Regions from separate parts of the Homo sapiens genome. Here region 1 is linked to region 2. The links are contacts of gene promoters, found by promoter capture Hi-C in human tissues and cell types (Jung and others, 2019). All regions are on one chromosome and are shown on one strand. The core of a region is centred on a gene start or on the middle of the fragment in contact, and the rest is flanking DNA. Distances in the headings are between cores, read along the strand shown.

Region 1 (3,239 bases), core at 320-2,819, 310 kb after region 2:
CTCCTCTTCATTGTGTTATTCCTGTTCCTTAGGTTGGCCGTTGTCCAATGTGTTGCTGTTATCTGGAACTCCTACCTGTCCTGGAAGGCACATCGGCTCTAAGCCTGCCTCACTCCATCGTTTCCACCTTGCAGTGATGCAGCTTGACCCTGGAACGGTCAGACAACCTCCTCAAAGTGGGCATACCAGTTTCCACGGGGTTGGGTTGCCGGTCAGAGCTTAAGAGGACTAGCACCCTGCAATGCCCCTCTTCACTCTAAAATGTACACTGACTGCTTTAGAGCCCTTGATAATAGTCTTATTCCCACCACATACTAGGCACTCCATAAATATCTGTTGAACCTTCATGACCTTATCAACTTTACACCCATATCCCAGCAAATGCCACTCATCCCCACTCTTCATAGACACATTTGTTACTCTAACCCTGCCTAGGCTTCTTGTAGCTCCAGCTCTTTAGAGACTCCCGGAACCCTTTATATGGTGCCTCAGTAAATATGTTATTAAATATGTAATCCGGAATCTGCAGTGGTAATGAGTAAGTTTTTAAGCAGAAAACTATTGGGGAGTCATTTCTAGAGCTGGAAAGAAGCCAAGAGACCACCAAGCCCAATTTTTTTTTTTTTTTTTTTTTTTTTTTTTGAGACAGGGTCTTGCTCTGTCTCCCAGGCTGGAGTGCAGTGGCGCGATCTTGCCTCACTGCAGCTTCCGCCTCCTGGGTTCAAGCAGTTCTCCTGCCTCAGCCTCCTGAGTAGCTGGGACCACAGGCGCATACCGCCACGCCCGGCTAATTTTTGTATTTTTAGTAGAGATGGGGTTTCGCCATATTGGCCAGGCTGGTTTCAAACTACTGACCTCGTGATCCGCCTGCCTCGGCCTCCCAAAGTGTTGGGATTACAGGCGTGAGCCACCGCGCCTGGCCAAGCCCAGTCTTACAAATGAGGACCCTGAGGTTGGTAGGAGGGAGGTGACCTGTCCACACCAGGAGTTAGCAGAAACTTGAACCCATATTTCTTTGCTGCTCATGGGCAGAGTTACACTGCTGCTATGATTCCCAGGAGAGAAACTGAACTTTGCTAAACTACTTTGGCAAACTCAAAAGCAGATGGGCCAGCCATTTGTGGTCTGAAAGCACTCGGATGCTAGAGACCCTCTGTTACATGGTGCCTGTCAGACAGCCCTACAATTTGGATCCTGGGGCTGGAAAAAGATAAGAATGCTGGGAGACTTTGGTTGTGGCAGACTGCCTCTCAGTGGGTCCCACTGTGTTGGCTGAGTGCCAGCGGTGGACTCCTGATGCCTGCATTTGCAGAACTGATAGCTGCAGGGAGGCAGTGGGTTCCAGCGGCACAGCGTTCTCACATTTCTGGCCACTTCTAGAGGCAGAGGACGGGGTCAGCACCATGGACAGCCTCACGGTCCCGCCTCCCTTTCGTGTGTCAGAACACGCGACCCGGACTAGTCTGGTCTGGGGACGGCCCTAGTCATTGCTGGCTGTTCTAAGCGGGGCGAGGGACTCCCGTGGGTCCCAGAGCAGTCTTTACGCCCCAGCCGGCTTCTCGCTTTCCTGCGTCCAGTGCTGCTTCCAGCGCTAGCCCCAGGGGCACGAAGGCTGGTGTAGGGAGGTGCGCCCCTCCGGGGGCCCGCCAGCCGTCAGACTCGAAGCTGTGGCTGTCATTGCTTCTACAATCAGTGCATGTTCTTCGCTGACGTCAGTCGGAGCTGTCCTGGCACTATATAAGGCTGGCGACAGCCCCGGGACAGACCCTGTGTTCCCCAAGGCGTCTTCAGCCTGCCCCGAGGGACAGAGACTGGAGCTCAATCTTGGACCGTACAGACGCTCGCCGACAACCTGTGAGTGGCTCAGAGCGTCCGCCCAGCCTCCCCCTGCACCAGGACTCCGCTCAGCTCAGCCACCACGCTCCTCCGGGGAGGGAGGCTGGGTGGAAGGGATGGAACAGCACTGGCGCAGTGGCTGGGGCTGGAGGGCAGGCTGCGGGCATTGGGCGGCGGCCGGAGGGGTCGCCGGGCGAGCGCGGGGAGGGGAGCGGCGGCCTGCAGCTGTCCCAGGCGCACCTCACCCTGCGCTGCCCCTGTGTGTCCAGGGCCGGCGGCACCATGAGGCAGGCGGGACGCGCAGCGCTGCTGGCCGCGCTGCTGCTCCTGGTACAGCTGTGCCCTGGGAGCAGCCAGAGGAGCCCCGAGGCGGCCGGGGTCCAGGACCCGAGTCTGCGCTGGAGCCCCGGGGCACGGAACCAGGGTGGCGGGGCCCGCGCGCTCCTCTTGCTGCTGGCGGAGCGCTTCCCGCGCCGCGCGGGGCCCGGCCGATTGGGACTCGGGACGGCAGGCGAGCGGCCGCGGCGGGACAACCCTTCTCTGTCCATTGACCTCACCTTTCACCTGCTGCGGACCCTGCTGGAGCTGGCGCGGACGCAGAGCCAGCGGGAGCGCGCCGAGCAGAACCGCATCATATTCGACTCGGTGGGCAAGTGATGGCCCGGTTTGGGGCTGCGAAAACGTTGACCCCTTTCCCCCACCCCAGAGTTGGGATGCGGGGCAGAGCCACCAGGGCACTGTCTGCGTGACTATTTTTTAATAAAAGTACTGAAGACCCGTTGGCTTTTGTCGTAGAGGCAGGGCAGTCACAGCAGCGTGGGAACCCGTGGGAAGGTGGGGCCCCCGGGCCAGCGGGAGGGGAACAAAATGCTGTGGGGGGCTCCGAGACAGCGGCTTTCAGCCAGGTCAGCCAGGTGCATGTGGACCCCAAGGGTCCCCAAATCCCCAGGACCTCAGAGGTCCCGGCACCACCGCCCCGCCCTCGGCCCTCTTCCCAGGGCGCTGGGCTCACCAGTTCGCTCCTGGCATCACAGAGGTGCCCAATAGGGGTTCATTTGGCTTCCGCCCCCCAGACGGTCTCAGGTTCTGGGAAGGGCAGGATGGTGGGCGGGTCGCCTTCGAAGCCCAGGCTGCGGGGTTGGGCAGCGAAAGGAGATACGGGTCTGGGACGCTCGAGTTCTTTATTGAGATCCTCCCGGGGCCGGCGCCGATTTGGGTGATGCTGCGGTCTCTGCGCAGATCCTCCCCGACTCTAGCGCGGGCTCTCGAGCAGGGTCGGGTCGGCGCAGGCCTGTGCCCGGGAAAGAAGGCTCGGTGGGCGGGTGCTGCGAAGGCACGAGGCAGCTCGAGCCCCGCTCACTCCGTCCCCCGCCACGTGGGTTTCTCCTCTACTCAGCCTGCCT
Region 2 (3,107 bases), core at 333-2,832:
GTTCATTTTTTATGTGGCATATGCCACAAAATAGGCAAGAATATATAAGACCAATATTTACGCAAAATGGGGAAGAGAATCCAGAAACACGACAACAAAGCTGCTCTAACCAATGTTCCAGAGAAAGCCACCCTCAAAGAGAAATAACCCATTAAACATTACCAGATAGGCATGAGGTACAGAAAAAGAATTTTTCTTTCCAGCTCCAGATAAATATCTACATCTGGTGTCAAAGTCTCAGGATATAAAGAGGAGAGAACTCCATATATAAAAGAGGATAGGACAATATTCTCAGAAAATTCAAAAAGACAGAGGTTGGCTAAGGGGATGGGTGGAAACAGTGGGGCGTAGACTAACAAGTAAGGTAAAGTCCAGGGAGAAGGAATGCGCACCTTGGTTTTCCCTTAGTGGCACTACCAGGAGCACTAGGAGACTGTCAAAACATCAGGGGCAATGTGATATTTCTCAATTCTTAAAACCAAAGAAGCAAAAATAAGCTTCAGAGGGCAAGTGATCATAGCTATGGATGAGGCCTCGGGCTCCAGGAAAGTTGGGGCAGTATTTATTGCTGCTTCTACTTTCTCTTTCCTGTCATTTTAATGTTTGGGTCACTTTACTCCTAAGGTTGCTTTTCATGTCTGTGGGTCTAGTCACTGCTACTTGGTACAAAGCATTTCCCAGTATAAACAGCATAGGGTAGTTCTAGAGTTTTCATCCTAAATCCGTTTTCTTACTTTCAATCTTAAAACCATATTGAGAGGACAAACAGCCTCCATAAAGTTTTTTTCCCAAGGAGACAGAGTAATCTTATTATGTGAATGACAACAGTTCTAACTTCTAGACTTGTTATATCACAAATACAAAATGACAAATCAGTTATGGTTTTAAAAAATTAGTTTGGAATGGTTTCACAAGCTAGATGATGGAGCAGCTACTAAATCAATGGAGCTTCCAAGAACATTCTATACCCCAGGAAGGAAAGGACAACCAAAGAGGTTTCTTAGTTTTGTACAGGGCAAGAGGAGCCTATAGTTGGCCTTGAGAGGGAGCTCTTTGGGCAAGATAAAAAAACAAGAGGACTTGACGAGGAATAGCAGGAAAACCTACTAAAAGGGGAGGGGGGAATCAAAATGTAAGAAGGGAAGACAGTGAAATTTACACAGGAGGAAGGAGCTGAGAAAGTCACAGCCTTACACAAACAGCTGAAAGAATCTTCACTCAGTCCTCCCAGCACAGGTCCCCGTGACAACAGCATCACATCTGCTTTCCTAGGAGCACTTTTACACTGACTGCCTATTTCCTTCCTCGTTTATGATTAGTCTTTGGGGGCTTTACTTTCTGGAACTGTGCTGGCACTGGCTCCTGCTCTGGTTCCTTACAGGAGGCTGACACTACCAGTTCCTCATTATTCCTCCTCTGATCCTTCCCTACTCTAAGACTCAGCTCTGTCTCGGGAAGCTCAATGCCAGGCTGCTGCCGCCTTCTTAGAGACCTTCTGCTCCTGTGCTGCTGCCTCCGCTTTTCTTCTTCTTGCTGCCGCTGCTTTATCTTCATCAGCTTTTCAAAGCTTTTGGTTGTTGTTGGGTTTACAACGAACCAGTCCTAGAGAGGCAAAATAGAAATGTCATCCAGTCGAAAATATAGTGAAGAACATAAAGAAAGGTGGAGGAAGAATGGAAAAAAGGCATGATTAGGGCAGAACACAGTAAGAAGGAAACAGATATGGAACCATACCTCAGGATTCTATATTTTAAGATGGAGAAATCCAACACAGAGCAGCTATTACAAGCACATATTTTGTAAGGCGTAATTCTAGGGACTTTAATAAATGATCTACAAAGTCTGTTTACTTAGCATCATCCCACTCTTATATCTCCTGAGTATAAATCTCATCATGAGATGTAACACACTGAGCCATAGGAGATTTTTATTCCATGACGGCATCGTAACTAAGAGCATAAATTTTGCAGCCAGACCCCCTGGGTGCAAATCCCAGCTCTGTTTCTAGATACGTGACCATGGGCGAATTACTTAACATTTTCGAGGCTCACTTTAAAAAATTAAGGGGTAGGGGACATGAAATCCAATTATGAAGTATTTTTGCCAAAAAAGAAAGAACTTCAATCTTATCAAGTGATCTGTTCAATCTTCTAAATCTACCAATTCATAGGAAAAGCCAGAATAGGGAGTTGAGCCCAATCTCTCTGCCCCACTGCAAGACTCCACTGCAGTGGTCCCTGTACCTCAAAAACAAACAACAACAACAAAAAGCAAAAAAGGAAATGGCCAGAATACAGGAATACTATCATAGGGTGCAATCAGCAAAATTCCAGAATGTGGGTACATGTATGTGACAAGTGATCCGGTTTCTTCAATAAATGGCAAATTTGTAAAAAAGAAGAGGAAGCTTTTAGTCTTGCACCATGCAATGAGATAGCCACTAGCCACATATGGTAAGTGATGTGTTTAAATGTGAGTAGAACAAATTAAGATATGCTTTCATGTAAAATATACAACAAATCTCAAAGACTTGTTATGAAAAAAATGTAAAATATCTCAATAATTTATTGATTTAATGTTAAAAATAATTTTAGATATATTGGGCTTAATAATTATTAACATTAATTTCATCTTTTAAAATACTTTTTTAATGTGGCTACTAGAAAATTTTAAATTATATACATGGCTCACAGTACTTTTTTTGGATAGTGCTGCTCTAGATTAAAACAAACAAATGCAATATTTAGACCTTGTTTTAGATCCTAATTTGAAAAATCAACTCTGAAAAAACATTATAAGATAATCAGGGAAATTTAAATAATAACTAGACATATGATAATATTAAAATTCTTAACTTTTTTAGGTATAATGATGTTTGTGGTCATATGTTTTCAAAAGTCCTTATCTCTTACAGATATATATTGAAAGAAGCACTTACAGCTGAAATTTTATGTGGAATTTGCTTTAAAGTAAGCCTTTAAGGGAGGAGAAAAGTGAGGTTATAAATGACACAAGATTGGCCATACACTGATGATTGCTGAGGATGGCTGACAGCATACTGGGTTCATTATGCTATTTTCTCTACTTTCATGTGTTTGAAATTTTCT

The links. The method cuts DNA at HindIII sites, captures the fragments that hold promoters and counts their contacts. A contact is called where the count stands out against the background at its distance.
Region 1: a contact is called between the fragment with the promoter of UCN here and a fragment that was not itself captured in region 2, in 1 of the 25 tissues and cell types used here (liver).

Annotation. Positions count from the first base shown.
Region 1 is chr2:27,306,775-27,310,013 of GRCh38, reverse strand. UCN (urocortin) reads left to right here and starts at 1,569. Exons shown (of 2, transcript NM_003353.4): 1 at 1,569-1,854; 2 at 2,106-2,614. The coding sequence starts at 2,119. The coding sequence ends at 2,493. TRIM54 (tripartite motif containing 54) reads right to left here. Exons shown (of 9, transcript NM_187841.3): 9 at 2,579-3,127. MPV17 (mitochondrial inner membrane protein MPV17) reads left to right here. Exons shown (of 8, transcript NM_002437.5): 8 at 33-522. The coding sequence ends at 102. The HindIII fragment of the contact is 27,300 bases long and covers 1-3,239 here.
Region 2 is chr2:27,619,648-27,622,754 of GRCh38, reverse strand. ZNF512 (zinc finger protein 512) reads right to left here. Exons shown (of 14, transcript NM_032434.4): 14 at 1-1,602. The coding sequence ends at 1,294. Among named protein-coding and RNA genes, the nearest start is that of CCDC121, 7.8 kb to the left of the region's middle. The HindIII fragment of the contact is 6,428 bases long and covers 1-3,107 here.